Linked DNA regions of Homo sapiens: all the other regions are linked to region 3. The links are contacts of gene promoters, found by promoter capture Hi-C in blood cells and fetal thymus (Javierre and others, 2016). All regions are on one chromosome and are shown on one strand. Each heading gives the region's core, a stretch centred on a gene start or on the middle of the fragment in contact. The rest is flanking DNA. Distances are from core to core; before and after follow the strand shown. Region 1 has its middle 17 kb from the start of LINC02656. Region 2 overlaps GDI2 (GDP dissociation inhibitor 2). Region 3 holds the start of IL2RA (interleukin 2 receptor subunit alpha). Region 4 has its middle 43 kb from the start of LINC02656.

The links. The method cuts DNA at HindIII sites, captures the fragments that hold promoters and counts their contacts. A CHiCAGO score of 5 or more calls a contact.
Region 1: a contact is called between a fragment that was not itself captured here and the fragment with the promoter of IL2RA in region 3, in 5 of 17 cell types (total B cells, endothelial precursors, activated CD4 T cells and 2 more). The highest score is 6.2, in total B cells.
Region 2: a fragment that was not itself captured here is called in contact with the fragment with the promoter of IL2RA in region 3 in 1 of 17 cell types (total B cells); the score reaches 5.0 in total B cells.
Region 4: a fragment that was not itself captured here is called in contact with the fragment with the promoter of IL2RA in region 3 in 6 of 17 cell types (activated CD4 T cells, total B cells, non-activated CD4 T cells and 3 more); the score reaches 8.8 in activated CD4 T cells.

Annotation. Positions count from the first base shown.
Region 1 is chr10:6,365,043-6,369,000 of GRCh38, forward strand. No RefSeq gene overlaps it. Among named protein-coding and RNA genes, the nearest start is that of LINC02656, 17 kb to the left of the region's middle. The HindIII fragment of the contact is 2,108 bases long and covers 701-2,808 here.
Region 2 is chr10:5,792,214-5,796,243 of GRCh38, forward strand. GDI2 (GDP dissociation inhibitor 2) reads right to left here. Exons shown (of 11, transcript NM_001494.4): 4 at 2,672-2,806. Among named protein-coding and RNA genes, the nearest start is that of GDI2, 19 kb to the right of the region's middle. The HindIII fragment of the contact is 334 bases long and covers 2,144-2,477 here.
Region 3 is chr10:6,060,856-6,064,913 of GRCh38, forward strand. It overlaps IL2RA (interleukin 2 receptor subunit alpha), which reads right to left and starts at 1,512. Exons shown (of 8, transcript NM_000417.3): 1 at 1,233-1,512. The coding sequence starts at 1,296. RefSeq lists an enhancer at 1,223-1,272 and a cis regulatory region at 1,265-1,895. The HindIII fragment of the contact is 7,385 bases long and covers 1-3,568 here.
Region 4 is chr10:6,390,791-6,395,373 of GRCh38, forward strand. It overlaps a transcript of PRKCQ not described here. Among named protein-coding and RNA genes, the nearest start is that of LINC02656, 43 kb to the left of the region's middle. The HindIII fragment of the contact is 7,289 bases long and covers 1-4,583 here.

The sequences.
Region 1 (3,958 bases), core at 505-3,004, 300 kb after region 3:
ACTGAGTCTGTTTTACAGAGGCCATGGAGAGCTGTCATTAATCTGTGAGTCTGTGAAGTGGAGGCCACTTGACAGTTTCTGCTGAGATGCTTCCGATGCCCTCAGTGTGTGCATGATCCACAAATAGCTTGCAGTCAGTGTTTTCCTGATGAGGGATGACTGCATTGCATCTTGTGTGTGTGCTTGACATCCTTAAGATGCTGTGAAGTTTTGGAGGAAAGTCTAATTTTAAAAGTTGGGTTAGGTTTTGGCTATAATTATGTTATACAACAAATAACTGAAATCTCAGAGGCTTTTAACAGTAGTCATTTATTTCACACTCATTGGTCAGCTGGTCATTATTTGGCTGACCGTGGAACCAGAACAAAGCCAAAGCGGTGTTCTCCAGGGGTGCTTTTTTAGGCCACAGTGGGAGCCCAGCCAATGCCTTCCTTCAGTGATTGGTAAAAATTTCTCCCCGAGATCCCATGCTGTTCTATCCTGAACAGCTTTGGATGTTTATTTTTCTGATTCTATCTCTATTATCTCTCTTCTGTTGACACATTCCTAACATGAAGACATTGCAGCCCTGGCAGGGGAGAACAAATATTTCCCATTCCACCCTCCTAGGTTCAATGACTTGGGCCCAAGAATCAAACTGATAAAAGGCAGATTAACAAGAGGAAAAAAAAACAATTTAAATTATGTAGGCATGTACAAAAGCTTACAAGGAAACACATGGCTCAAGGAGGCGGCCAGTTGATTGAGGCTTATGTATCATCTTAGACTAAACACAGTAAAAAGGGGTCTTGGGCTTCTGAGTGGGGAGGCAAGTTATGAGAAGGGGAGGGGAGGAGACGTAGGGTAAATAAGTTTGCCTTGTTATGCAGGTAAGTCAGGTGATGAGAGTTGTTGTCTTGGAGAGTAGCTCTCTTCGTGGTATGGGGACGTCTTTACAAGTGGAGATTTCCATTATAAAAGTAAATTTCCTTTACAGGAGGGGAAATTTATATACTCCAGTTTTAGGGAGTAAGGGAAGAGGTAAAGGCCTTGTCCTGCAATCAATGTGGTTGTTTTAGCTCAAAACAATCTATATGCCTGTTAAAGCAAACTAAATATGGCCGGAGAAGGACTCCATACTTCTATATTTGAGTCCTCATGGATGAACTGCAACCTAGCTTAACAGTCAGAAAAAATGGAAAACCTAGCTTAATAGTATGCACCTGTAACAATGGCTGAGTGTTGGCCAATCCTAGTGGCCATGCTTCAACCACTCATAGACTGCTGAATGTTCAAACTGTGTTCAAATAAGGCAAACGCCGAGCTATAACCAATCTCACTGTTTCTGTACCTCGCTTCTGATTCCTGTACATCGCTTTACTTCTTTTGTCTATAAATTTGTTTTGACCATGAGGCACCCCTGGAGTCTCTGTGAATCTGCTGTGATTCTGGGGGCTGCCCAATTCGCGAATCATTCATTCCTCAATTGAACTCCTTTAAATTTAATTCTGCTGAGGTTTTTCTTTTATCATGTCAATGAGGCCTAATTTCCCATGGCATTTCTGGTGCCCTTCTCCCTCTGCATAAGGTGCAATGTGGAGTGCACAAGGCTGATTTAATTCCTTCTTTCTTGAGTGCTATCTCTGCCAATGCATTATGTGCTTCTTATATGTATATCACAGAGTGAGGGGTTACTTATCAGTCTCTGCAGCGATGCACCGAAAAAGACCCATCTCATAGAAAAATGGAAGTTAAATAAGAGAGAGAAATAATTCTTTGATACCCCCCTACAACTTGTCTAAAATGAACACCTCCCTTTTCATACATGGGCTAAATGCAAATGCCTTAGGAGGGGTTACACACTGATTTACATTCACCCTAAAACATAAATGATGTTTCAGATTTTAGTTTTGATCAGTGTGTTAGTGCATTCTCACATTGCTATAAAGAAATACCTGGGACCGGGTAATTTATAAAAAAAGGAATTTAATTGGCTTACGGTTCTGCAAGCTATGCTTCCTGTACAGCCTGCACCAGCGCCAGCATCTACTTGGCTTCTGGGGAGGCCTCAGGAAGCTACAATCATGGCAGAAGGCAAAGGGAAGCAGGCACACCACATGGAGAAAGCACGTGGAAGAGAGAGGGGGAAGGCGCCACACACTTTTAACAACCACATCTTTCGAGAACTCACTGTCATGAGAACAGCACCAAGAGGATGGTGCTAGACCATTCGTGAGAAATCTACCCCCATGATCCAATCACCTCCCACCAGGCCCCACCTTCACCACTGGGGATTACATTTTGACATGAGATTTGGTGGGGGACAACATCTAAACTCTCTCAATCAGTGATTACAAATGGGAGAATGAGGTGTTAGGACACTCAAAGATGAAAAGAAGTAACTTGTTAGAAGTGGCACACTGGCCACTGAGCTCTTACTATAGGCAGGGATGGTATAGGGGTCCTGTAAGAGAAGGTGGGCAATAAGGGAGAAGAGAAGGGTGCAGGATTGAGCAGCTGTGGCTCCTAAATTGTCATCATCATTTTCATAGCTATGGTAATCACCAACCCTGTTGAATAAAAGCCATCTTGTCCAAGAGGTATATAGTCCAAGCAATTCAAAGACCCTGAGACAGTCCTGCCATTGAAACCCAGATTTTTTTCAGGTGCTCCTGAAAATACTCATTGCTCTAGACCTTTGCTGTTTTCAAGTCTTGGGTACATAGCAATCCCTGTATCCCCAGTAGGTATAGCTGGTTTCTTTATATTTTGCCATTGTATTCTGTATTGTGTAGTATATATGACCAGACATTAGTACTAGAAGAAAGAAGCTTTGGAGATGTTGAACGCTTCCCTTTACAGTTGAAAAAGGTCAAGCTGGGGGATTAAGTGATTTGTTTCAAATACCCCAACCAGTTAATGGCCGTGGAAGGATGAGAATTATTGCCTGTCTTACTAACACCTCCTTCTAAGGAAAACTGGCTTATCTGCAGGTAGCTATCTTGGGAAACTCGTGACCCCAATTCCCTGTGACAGTCCATTGAACCAGCATGGTCATCTGACCCATGTACAGTCGATCTTTTGATTTGTTCACAACCTTTGACACATGACCTTGGCCAATCAGATTTCCCCCCTTAGAAATGTGAACCAAGAAACGGAAGCTGAAATTGCTAATGTCGTAATATGGAGGGCATTTGCATGGCTATGGTGAAGCATGCAGTTGAGACTGGGAGGGAGCCTGAACTGTAAAGGAGAGAGTAAAGGGAACAGGGCACATTCGGCAAGCAAAAGTCCTAGAAGGAGCAACCACATGGCCCATGTGAGAGAGGAATTAGCCTGGGTTTCTGTCAGAGGCGTTCGAACCAGAGCGACTTCATCTTGAGTGAGAGCTAGGAAAATGGGGCTGAGACTTGCTGGGTTGCGCTCCCAGAAAGTTAGGTATTCCTGGCCTCTAGATGTTTATGGTTAAGGGAACAGATGGATAACATTTACTAAACAGACCTAGGCTTAGGAGTGTTCTTGTATCCTGATATCTTGAGAACAGAAGCATTCCTAATTTTGCCTTAAAGAAAATAATAGCGATTCTTGCAAAATACAATAATTAAGAAAATTAATGCTTTATCACAAATCCTTGCAGCAGAACACATCTCCCTGTAATCTATTTTTTATCCTATATATAAACAAATGTTGTACCTAGGGTGAACACATTCTTCCTCTTGCTTTCAGGAATACCGTACTCTGCCTGTGGACGAGCTATTCTTTCACCACTTTACTTTCTTGATAAACTTGCTTTCACTTTACAGGCTCGTCCTGAATTCTTTCTTGTGCGAGATCAAGAATCCTCTCTTGGGGTCTGGATCAGGACCCTTTTTCCTGTAACACTTCCATGGTTCCTGGGGTAGCTCTGGTTCCAGCTCCAGTTCCAGCAAAAGCCCATTTGCACCCAGCCACCCCGCTTCTTAAATGAAAGATAATTTTG
Region 2 (4,030 bases), core at 1,061-3,560, 270 kb before region 3:
CTCCAAACCAGTTACTAGCTATACTACTTTGTGCTTTCCTTTTATACCTCAGCTTTCCCATCTGTAAAATAAAAAATAGTAATAGCACCTGCATCTCACACGATTGCAGTGAAGAACTATGTAAAGTTAGATAATACACATGAAGTACTTAATACATATATGCCTAGCATGTAAGTGCTCAAAAAACTGAGTTCTTATTAAAATTATAAAACAACTGGTACTTATCCACCCATCTCTTGAACTTTGCCACCTCTCCACCTTTCCTTACCCCATTCCTTCATTCTGCCTAGAATTTTCTTGCCTGCAACTCAAGATTTCAAAATCCTTTCCATTAATATAAGGAGATGCTGATAAGGTAGTGATTTGGTCAAAATGCATAAAAGTGTTTACTAAAACAAGTGATTTCTACTGTACATAAATTATACCTCAATAAACCTAGCCTTAAAAATATATACAGAAGCATATGCGCTTATTCAAAAAAAAAAAAAACAGAAGAAGGATAAGCCAGAAAATGATTACCTAACAGGTCAGAAAGAATGGAAGTAGAAAAGTAAGAATGAGACCAAGACTCGAAATATACCTTTTAACTTTCAAGCTCTGTAAATGTTTTATATATCTGAAAAAATCAGAGAAAATAAAACTGCCAAACGATAATTTCTATTAGATGAAGGAGGTAACTGAAGCTTTAATATAAGTAAGAGCTCCAAGAAAGAAAATGTAAAAGAAAGAACCCACGACCTTTGTCCAAAAAAAAAAAAAAAAAAAATTCTATTTCTTATTTTTATCTAAAAAAAATTTTGAGACAGGGTCCCCCTCTGTCACCCAGGTTGGAGCGCAGTGATGCAATCACAGCTCACTGCAGCTTTGATTTCCTGGACTCAAGCGATCCTCCTGCCTCAGCCTCCACAATACCTGGGACTACAGTAATGTACCACCACATCTGGCTAATTTTCTTATTTTTTGAAGAGACAGGGTCCTGCTATGTTGCCCAGGCTGGTCTTCAACTCCTGGCCTAAATCAATCCTCCTACCACGGCTTCCCAAAGCAATGGGATCACAAGCGTGAGCCACCACACCACACCACTGTTAAAAAGGATTCTATTCAAACTCAAACTCCTACTTCTATGAAGATACTTTATTTGGATTAAATTTTCATAGTCATTTAAAAGATTTAAAATAATTTCGAACCCATGATTACACTACTAACTACCCGCAACTGAATGAGAAACTGTTCCTTCCCTTCCCCAATTATCAGTCCTAACCTAGCCCTGATTCTTTGCAGTATTTTTTACTTTCTGGCTATGTCTTTAATATTTTATACCCAATATTTTCTCCCCTAATCAGAAGTTAATAGAGGAAACTGCCAAAATAATTCAAATTAGGTTTACAGATGAGAAAACTTTTCAGCGCTGATGCCAAAATAATTATGAGAGAACTTATGAGCACTTTCCCTCTTCTAAGCTCCTAGAGCCCTCACCTACCCTTAGTTATACAAATTTATCCTTCTCCAAACTGCTCCATACAAGGACTAAAACATCTTGAAGAACAAAAAGGTCTTTTCTGGACTGTTTGCTATTTAAGAGAGACGCTGAAATAGGAAATGTTAACCAGAACTCTTTGGTGAGGCAACAGAGGAAATAATGTTGGGCAGAGAATAAGATCACTCCAAGGCTGGGCGCGGTGGCTCATGCCTGTAATCTCAGCACTTTGGGAGGCCAAGGCAGGTGAAACACCTGAGGTCAGGAGTTCAAGACCAGCCTGGCCAACATGGTGAAACACCATCTCTACTAAAAATACAAAAATTAGCCGGGCGTGTTGGTACATGCCTATAGTCCCAGCTACTCAGGAGGCTGAGGCAGGAGAATCGCTTGAACCTGGGAGGTAGAGGTTGCAGTGAGCCTCTGAGATCGCGCCATCACACTCCAGCCTGGGTGACAGAGCGAGACTCTGTCTTTAAAAGAAAAAAAAAAAAAAAAATATATATATATATATATATATATATATATATATATATATATATAAAACTCACCAGGAGTTCCTAAAATCAAAGATATTGGGAATTACTAACAAGACCAATTAGAAGATGAGCATCATCAGAATGAGTACTTCTCCTGTTGGCACGTTGGGTAATATAGCGTAGGGTAAGCTTAGTAACATGATTAAGCACCAGGGCTCTGGAGCCACACTACCAGCATTTCACTTCCAACCCAGCTACTTATCCCAGCTACTTATTACGTATGCAATTTTAGGCCTGAGTTTCATCACCTATAAAATGGAGACCCTATGTCATAGAGATGTTTCAGAAGTCAAATAAGAAAACAATATGGAGTGTTCAGTACAGAGCCTTTAGACACAGGAAATACTCAACAGAAAGCATAGCTATTATGAATTACTGTGAAAAGAACACTATTAACCCTAGATAAGCTCAGATCCACCAGCCACAAGGTACATGATCTATAGATGATCATTTAAACTCTAAGCTTCAAACGGGTAGGAATTTTTGAACATTTTGTTCACTGATGTGTTCCCAACTGCCTAGAACAGTGTCTGGCACATGATAGACATTCAATAAATATTTGTTGACTGGGTCCTCTCTAAGACTCTTTTCCAGTATAAAATCTCATTATTCTGAGAAAATAAAACTAGTTACTAGAGAAAATAAAACTACTTACTAGATGCCAGGGCTTCTGCTTCAGTGGAAGGAACCTTGTAGATTTTTCCACCCTTATAGACAAAGCTCCCTTCAGTCACTTTAAAATCCAGATAGCGAGTTACCTCTGTATAAAGCAGCATCTTAACCAGCTGACCTAGAAAAGTCACATAATTCAAACTATAACTTAAGTCTATAAATTATAAAGAACATTTACTAATACTAACAGCTTCTAAAATTTTTTCTAACGATGTTCAATAACTCCAACAAAATAATTTTTTTTTGAGACACAGTCTCCCTCTGTTGCCCAGGCTACAGTGCAGTGGCACAATCACGAGCTCACTGCAACCTCAGCCTCCTGGGCTCATGCAAGCTTCCAGCCTGACGCTCCTGAGTACCTGGCACTACTATGCCTGGCTAATTTTTTTTTGTATTGTTTTGTAGAGACAGGGTTTTGCCATGTTGCCCAGGCTGGTCTCAAACTCCTAAGCTCAAACAATCCACCCACCTTGGCCTCCCAAGTGCTGGGATTATAGGCACGAGGCACCGCGCCTGGCCCAAAATAACCTCCAAAGCTGTATTTTAAATAGGACAACCAGAATGCAAACTTATTGCACTGCATATTACACGTTTTTGTTATTTTTTATCTTTTTTTCCTATTCAAGGTTGAATACATAGGTTTTTTTAATGTTACAACTTAAAGGTTAATAATTCTATCAACTTGCTTTTGCAAAAGCAATGAAAAATTTATTAGAGATATGAGGTTTGGAATTATAGTATTATTGGCCAGGCACAGGTGGCTCACACCTGTAATCCCAGCACTTTGGGAGGCCAAGGAGGGAGGATTGTTTGAGCCCAAGAGTCCAAGACCAACCCACACAACACAGTGAGACCTCATCTCTACCATAACACAAAAAAATTAGCCAGGTGTGGTGGAACACCCAGGTGTGGTGGGACACTGAAGTGAGAGGATCACTTGAACCTAGAAGTCAAGGCTTCAGTAAGCTATGATTGCATTACTACACTCCAGCCTGGGTGACAGAGTGAAACCCCTGTCTCTAAAAAAAATTAATAAAAACAAACAATAGAATATAAACTCAAACAAGGAAAAAGGATAGCAGATGCTTTATTTCATGTGCACAAACAGACCTATAACCAAAAATTTAGTTTTTCAATGTCATCTCAGAAAAAAGTACTAATATTACAGCAATTTAAAAAAATACTTAGCCTGTAATCACAGTACTTGGGAGGCTGAGGCGAGCAGGTCACTTGATGTCAGGAGTTCAAGACCAGCCTGGCCAACATGGTAAAACCCTGTCTGTACTAAAAATACAAAAATTAGCTGGGCGTGGTGGCACGCACCTGTAATCCCAGCTACTTG
Region 3 (4,058 bases), core at 262-2,761:
GGGCACTTCCCCTAAACAAGCAAGCAGACTCCTGAAATGCATCATTATGTTTCATTTCTTAATAAATTCTTTCTACAGCCAGTTAGCATTCTACTTGTTGCCATTATAGACTTTCAAAAAACACTATAAACTTTCTTATCTGTCTTCCTGAGTAAGCAAAGGGAAGACATTATTAGAAAATTCACACTCAATTAGGAAGAGTGGTTTGAGGTAGAAGTTGGTGGTTTTTTATTTCTTTAAAAAAAAATATTGGCCAGGCACGGTGGTTCATGCCTGTAGTACCAGCAGTATGGGAGGCCAGGGTGAGTGGATCACTTGAGCCCAGGAGTTCAAGACCAGCTTGGGCAACATGGCAAAAACCCCATCTCTACAAAAAAATAAATTAACCAGGTGTGGTGGCGTATGCCTGTAGTCCCAGCTACTCAGGAGGCTGAGGTGGGAGGATCGCTAAGCCTGGGAGGCGAAGGTTGCAGTAAGCCAATATCGCGCCACTGCACTCCAGTCTGGCTGACAGAGACAGTGTCAAAAAAAAAAAATCTTCGAGAAAATCCATTTGAAACAAGGAATGAAATTTAAAATTTGCATATATAAACACGTATACATATACATATCATGTATATACATAGGATTATGAGAAGTAGTAATGTTCTAAAAGTGAGTATGCATATTTTTAAAAATTTCTGTAAAGTTGCACTTGTAAGGAAATTCCTAGGTGTTATTTCCTAAGACGTAAAAGCAGTGTATACATCCTTGAAGCTAAACTTTTCTGAGATCTTAAATTCTCCCAGTGTTTGATATATGAGTACTCATGTCTCCAGCAAATTAACCTGAACTTAAAGAGCTTCCTGATAGCTTCTTAGTTGGGGGGTGGGAGTGCAGAGAATAAAAGGAAATTCATTGAAGAATAAAAGATAATTTCTTGAGAAACCTGCTCATCGGGACCCTGTTAACATCCAAATATCCCAAATATCATGCCACACTATTCTTCCCAGAATTAATTGTCAAGGACTGAGAAGGACAGGAGAACCTAATGCTATTTCAGGCTCTCTTGACAGACCAAGGAACAGTGAGGCATAAACTGGGGTCCCCGTGGGTCACAGGCAAGAGGTGGAACCCAAGATTCAACTCCCTTCTTGGAACCATCTACCTGGGGACTCCCTCTGGTTCTGTGGCTGGGAAGAGGGATGCCCATCAGCCTTCCCGGAATTCCGGGGGCACCCACAGGCCCTTACCTGCCTGGCAGCCAGGCACCATGATGAACGTGAGCAGTCCCCACATCAGCAGGTATGAATCCATCTTCCTGACCCTTGGGACCAGCCGGGGCAGTGAAGCGGAGGTCTTTCTCTGCAGAAGGCCCAGTTGCCGTCAGCCTCTTTTTGGCATCGCGCCGGAGGATGTGGGATGGGAAGATCGGTCCGCCTGGGCTGTCACCCTTGTGGGTCCATCCAGTCTCTATCGGAGTCAGGAGTTGCTCTCTTTAAGTATTGGGCTGGCGTGTTCAGCCAGGAAACTGCCTAGCACTCTCTTCTCTCATCTCAAATATAGGAAGTGTTTTTTTTTTTTTTTTTTTTTGATGACAATATAGTTTGCGGTAATTTTTCAAACCAGGTTTTTTTTTTCAAGTTCAATTGCTGGAGGTGTGGGCTGGGGTTGATGAGAAGGATTGAACTTCATTTATGAATCCTTTCTTCAGCTACGCCCATAAAAGGAGAGGGAGATTCCCCTGCCGTTGAAGGTAGGGTGAGCAAGCACTTCTTGGCAGTGGTCTCACCCAGCACTTCATAAGCTGAGTCCTCCCCTCAGGGCTGTAACGTCCTCAGGAGTCAGCCGGGACCACCTGGGATGAAGGAGCAAAGTCCTGACAAGATTCTGGTCAGGCAGCCTCCAATATTCAAATAATGGAGAAGGATGCGGCGAACTGAAGGATCCTGAGAATTCATAAATAATTCCCCAAGGCTTATAACCTGTACTAGCCATCATCATTTCACCACAGTGCCCTGGGCTCCTGAAAGTGCATTGTCATTTTATAAGGTGTTTTGCTTCCAGATTTCTTTCTCTTAAAGGATCATGCAAAAAGTGGGCTTTGGTTTTAAACTTTGGATTATTTTGTAAAATTCAGTCTTGCTTATTTATTGATCAGAGCTCTCTTCTGATTATTATGAAATGGTTGAGTGTGTTTTGCTCCCTGGAAATTTGTCTAAGACTTAAAGCCATTGCATAGTTAGAGCAAAACACAATTTTTTAAATACTAGAAAGCAAGCAAAGATATTAACAAAAAGAAAACCCTCCGGGCAAGCCAAGGAATTCAGGGTTCCAAAACACATCACGTTGACTGGGCCTGGTGGCTCATGCCTGTAATCCGAGCACTTTGGTAGACCAAGGTGGGTGGATCACCTGAGGTCAGGAGTTTGAGACCAGCCTGGATGACATGGTGAAACCACCGTCTCTACTAAAAAAAAAAAAAAAAAAAAAAAAAAAAAAAAATTAGCCAGGCGCAGTGGCACACGCCTGTAATTCCAGCACTTTGGGAGGCTGAGGCAGGCAGATCACCTGAGGTCGGGAGTTTGAGACCAGTCTGGCCAACATGGTAAAACCCCATTTCTACTAAAAATACAAAAATTAGCCAGGCGTAGTGGCGGGCGCCTGTAATCCCAGTTACTCAGGAGGCTGAGACAAGAGAATAGCTGGAACCGAGGAGGTGCAGGCTGCAGTGAGCTGAGATTGCGCCACTGCACTCCAGCCTGGGCGACAGAGTGAGACTTCCATCTCAAAAAACTTGTCAAAATATGACAAGATTCTCTTAAATTCCACAGCAGGTATAACTTCCTCTCTAGGAACGTTTCTCACTCTGCGGGCAAGTGCTCCAGTAGAAACTCCTAGTACTCCCACCAAAGTCACGCTCCTTTCTTCTTGGGCATGGGAGTAGAATGCACTTGCTGCCTCTCCTGGAAAATAGCTTATGCTTTAAGTAGTTAATGTGGATTGTCATTATAAAATATTTAAATTTATGTTAATGTCTTTTTTTTTTTTTTTTTGGAGCGCAATGGCACAATCTTGGCTCACTGCAACCTCTGCCTCCCAGGTTCAAGTGATTCTCCTGCGTCAGCCTCCTGAGTAGCTAGGATTACAGGCACGCGTCACCACATCCAGCTAGTTTTTGTATTTTTAGTAGAGACGGAGTTTCACCATGTTGGTCAGGCTGGTCTCGAACTCCTGACCTTAGGCGATTCACCCACCTCGGCCTCCCAAAGTGCTGGGATTACAGGTGTGAGCCACCACGCCTGGCAATTACAAGATTTTTTTAAAGCCATATCACAAAGCCCCCACAATTTTTCTGGTAAATAAGAGGCCCAACTCTTGGTTCTGAGATGGACCATGGTTAAACAAGTCATTGAACTGGCTTTTCTGGTTCACCTTACGGATGAACGCTCTGTCGTCGTTTGCTGATGCTGAGGTTTCCAGTTGATGCTGCATGGCACGATGCAGGGATGTGAGAAGAAGTTGGGGGTGCAAAAGCAGACCCATTTTGTCACGGATTGCCCAGGATCTCATACTGAAGCTGTAGCAAAGCTTTTGCCCTTAATGAGTTTACAGGTGAAATGGAAAGACACTTGAGTGTCCCTTCCTCCAGGAGGCCTTTTCCAGTCCTTTCTACTCCATCATAACACCTGCCGTGCTGCATTGCAATTCACTGTTTATATCTCTTTCTTTCTTCTAGTTGCTGTTAATCTTTTTTGGATTAAAAACTCTTTTTTGTTTTTAATTTAAGTTCCAGGATACATGTGTAGAACGTGCAGGTTGGTTACATAGGTATAAGTGCGCCATGGTGGTCTGCTGCACCTACTCACCTGTCTTCTAAGTTCCCTCCCCTCACACCCCACCCCCCACCCTGCAGCAGGCCCTGGCGTGTGATGTTCCCCTCCCTATGTCTATGTGCTGTCATTGTTCAACTCCCACTTATGAGTGAGAACATGCGGCATTTGGTTTTCTGTTCCTGTGTTAGTTTGCTGAGGATAATGGCTTCCAGCTTCATCCATGTCCCTGCCAAGGACATGATC
Region 4 (4,583 bases), core at 1,059-3,558, 330 kb after region 3:
TAACAGCCTTTTCCCAAAACAAACCTCCTTCTTGTCTAGGATCTAGACTGCCTTTGTAGAACTAAGAAATTAGCCACAGGATTAGAAATTACAGTTTAGGAGTCATGCAGCTGGAGATTACAAGATTCTGACCCCCCCTAAACTGCTCCTAAGATCAGGGCTTGAGATATTTTGCAGACCCTGCACTTGATGGATCAGCTGGCACCACCCAGATCGATAAACTGGCTCATCTGATCCTGTGGCCCCTACCCAGGAACTGACCCAGCGCAAGAGGACAGCTTCAACTCCCTATGATTTCATCTCTGACCTAACCAATCAGCACTCTTGACTCACTAGCCTTCCCTCACCCACCAAATTATCCTTAAAAACTCTGACCCCTGAATGCTCAGGCAGGCTAGTTTGAGTAATAATAAAACTCCAGTCTCCTGCACAGCTGGCTCTGTGTGAACTACTCTTTCTCCATTGCAATTCCCCTGTCTTGGTAAATTAGCTCCATCTAGGCAGTGGGCAAGGTGACCCCCAGTGGGTGGTTACAGGACTATGAGGCAGATAGACCTGTGTGCATGTGAGTGGAGTGTGTTAACTGTGTACTTTAGAGAAGGACTAATTGGCTACACCATTGAGCTTGAGAACTTCCTTGGCTGGGCTGCTCTCTTGTCCTCTCAGCCTGATCATGTCCCACAGAAAACTCAACTGAGAGCTCACCTGGGTTGAAAGCCTGACTCTGCATGCTGGGGAGGGCATCTCAGCATATATACATTTAATCCCTTTCCTTCATCCTTTTAGTGTCCCTCATACCAGAGACCCTCTCTGTTGTACCCTCCTCTGACTATAAACCTACTGTCTTTTGCAAAAGTAGGAAGAACTAGGAGCTTAGTTGCTGAAACGGGGAAGAGGACATGTGGCCCTGTTTCTTAAACAAACTTTCAACAAACTGTCTTTATTTTAGCCCTTCTTTTATTCCCACGTTTATCTAGATGTACAGAATTTCTGAGCTTCTGGGAAAGCCTGCCTCAGTTTGGTCCTAGGATTTCTCTCTACTTCCGGCTTGGTCTTTTTTCTACTCCTTATCTGGTTTCTCTCCTTAAAATGTTGTTACAGTTGTAGATCCTTCCAGCTCCCCTATCTTTGAGGGCTTATGCTAAAAAAAAAGTTATTTTGCTATTGTTTTAGTGCATTTTGTTTTTGAGGAAGAAGTGAAAATAGATGCACATGTTAAATCCACCATCTTTACCTAAAGGTTTTCTAATAGCATTCAATAATCCATCCTTTCCCCCCACGAAATTAAAATATCGCCTTTGGATTCTGTACCTTGTCAATATTATGTTAATTACCTCGTTAACATTATGTTAATTTTATTACAGTGCCTTAAAAGTGTTTTTCATAACTTCTAAAGCAAGTTCCCCTTTTCTCTTTTTTCCAGAAAATTTTGGATTATACTTGGGCATTTATTTCACATAATATAAATGTTAAGATAATATGATTTAATTTTAAGCATAAAGCAAGCAATCAAAACGAAAACAAATCAACAACAAAAACCCCCTAAACCTTATTGAGATATTAGTGAAACGGCTACATTGTCTGAGGTATATACCCTGGGGTTCGTCATCGCGCCAGGAAAATTTAGGACACAGACACACAAAAGGAGTTTAGGAGCTGAGGTTTAATAGGCAGAAGAAAAGAGAAAGAGAAACGACTTAGAGAAAGGAGTCTCCAAGTGGAAAAGACTGGGTGGCAACGGATTTTATAGCCCGGTTTGAGGAGGTGGTGTCTGATTTATGTAGGCCTCACAGATTGGTTAGATTACTTACAACTTTTACATAGCCTACAAGGAAGGCTGGTTGCCCCACCAGTCTTGTTATGCAAATGGGCTTTCCAGTTGATCAGGGCCATCTTGCCTGCTCTTCACTGTACCGGTGGCTGACAAAGAGAAGGAAAGATTGAGCCGCCATCTTGAACATGTCTAGTCCCTAGTTCCTGCCCAGCACTCACCTGAGCGAGCTCCCAGCTTGCTTGTCTATGTTTGCAGCTCGACTTTAAGGCTGCTGTTTGTTAGAAAAGGATTTGGGGATGCTTTTCCTTAAAGAGGAGAACCTTATCGAGGACTCCCATACCCTTACTATCTGCCTTAGTGATTTCTTCTTAACTCCTGTATCACTAGTTGGAAAGACATTAAATTTGTATGTTAATTGTTGGGAGAGTTTTTTTATATGTATATGTGTATCTATATATATGTTATTGTTATTGTCTTTTCATCATAGAATATGCTTCCATTTACTTCAAACCTGTTTTTGGTGCTTTGATTTGATTTTATAGTTTTCTTTATGTGAACCCTTTGCTGTTAAATATATTGGATATGTTTTTCTCAGTAAAGTGTTTGGCTTTTTTTGTGAAGGGCCTGAGAGTGAATATTTTTCACCTTCACTTTTGTGAAGGGCCTGAGAGTAGATATTTTCACATGTGATCTCTTTTAAACGACCCAGCTCTGCCACTATGGTAAAAGCAGCCACAGACAATACCTAAGTGCATGACCGTGGCTGTGTTCCAATAAAACTTTATTTATGAAAACAGGCAGTAGGCTGGACTGGTGTACATGGGCTGTAGTTTGCAGACTCCTGACACAGGAGGTCCTTCACAGAATATCAATCCATTAATCTGAAAATGCAGGAGGAACTGTGTGTTTTTAGTCAACTGTCTCAGAGACATTTCACAGAATCTGGGGTCTGAAAGTTCTTTTGTGGGGGAGTGCCTTATTGTCCCACAGTTTGATCACAGTGTTTTTTTTTTTTTTTTTTTTTTGAGACTGAGTCTCGCTCTGTCACCCAGGCTGGAGTGCAGTGGCTCCATCTCGGCTCACTGCAACCTCCGCCTCCTGGGTTCAAGCGATTCTCCTGCATCAGCCTCCTGTGTAGCTGGGATTACAGACGTCCCCGACAACACCTGGTTAATTTTTTTGTATTTTTTTCAGTAGAGATGGGATTTCACCATCTTGGCCACGCTGGTCTTGAACTCCTGACCTCGTGATCCACCCTCCTTGGCCTCCCAAAGTGCTGGGATTACTGGTGTGAGCCACTGCGCCAGGCCGATCACAGTGTGTTTTTAATTGTATCACACATTGCATCTTACCATGCATACTTGTGTTCAGGTCTGCCCTGCTCTTGGATTGTAAAATCTTAGGTCTATGGTAGGGTCTGAGCTTTACTTATGCTTGTAACTTTCTTAGCACACTGTCATGGGGTAGATAATCAATGCATGTTAAATTAATACATGAAGAGGCAGGAGGAAATGATTTCTTAGAATACATGTGAAAAGGAAGCTGCTACTGCCATTTATGTATGATGTTAAATTCTGATTAGTTTATATGTGAAGGTGTCATGTCGTTCATTCCTTATCTTTGGTGATAAGCAGGGTGTAGCACTGGCCTTGTGATTACGACTTTGACACACTCTGGGTCCTCCCCCATCTGCCTTTGTTGTCGTAAGTGTAGTGGCCTGATCTCCAGAGACAGGACACCTGGCGCCTCTGCAGTCTGCTTGTGCATTCACAGGGCACACAGCACTCCACCGATGGTCAGGTTCTTGAACTAGGTCAGTCATTTTTCCCATTTGCCACTTGTCTCCTGGAGTAGAAGGGGGAAGAATTAGAACACAAACATCTAAAAATGCAAGAGAGACCAAAAAGCAAAACATAAACACAAACAAAAAACAGCTTTCTGACTGTCAGCTTCACTGAGCAGCACCATTCCTTTTTCTGACCTTCAGCGGCATTTCGGAATGGGTAGTGTTACGTGCCAGGGGCACCGGCTTTCTCAGATACGTGTTGTAAATACATACGCCAAATCGTCAGACGTGCAGTCCACGGTGGGTCAGCTGTTGAACTGATGAATTCAGCCCAGCAACTGACTGAGAAAAGGGCAAGTTACAGTTGAAAACCCAGGAGGAGAAAGAAAATCCATGCTGCTCGCAAGAAGCAGGGCCATTTTATAATCTATTTTCTCAAAAACAAATAGTGATTGTGTCAAATAAGAATGGTTGAGAGGAATAGCTTGATACTGTTCTTCCACACATACATCATTCACTCCTTCTCTTCATGACTCTTCCCTGAAGGTCTTCCTTGTGCCGGAACGGTGCGACCTTTGCTGTTACTGTAACCATCCAGTGGGTTCACCTTGCCCGCCGCCTAGAGGGAGCCGATTTATCAAGACGGGGGAATTGCAATAGAGAACAAATAATTTACACAGAGCCAGCTGTGCAGGAAGCTGGAGTCTTTTTTTTTTTTTTTTTTTTTTTTGAGACGGAGTCTCGCTCTGTCTCCCAGGCTGGAGTGCAGTGGCTGTGATCTCGGCTCACTGCAAGCTCCGCCTCCCGGGTTCACGCCATTCTCCCGCTTCAGCCTCCCGAGTAGCTGGGACTACAGGTGCCTGCCACCGTGCCCGGCTAATTTTTTGTACTTTTAGTAGAGACGGGGTTTTCACCGTGTTAGCCAGGATGGTCTCGATCTCCTGACCTCGTGATCCGCTCACCTCGGTCTCCCAAAGGGCTGGGATTACAGGCGTGAACCAGCGCGCCCGGCCGGCTGGAGTT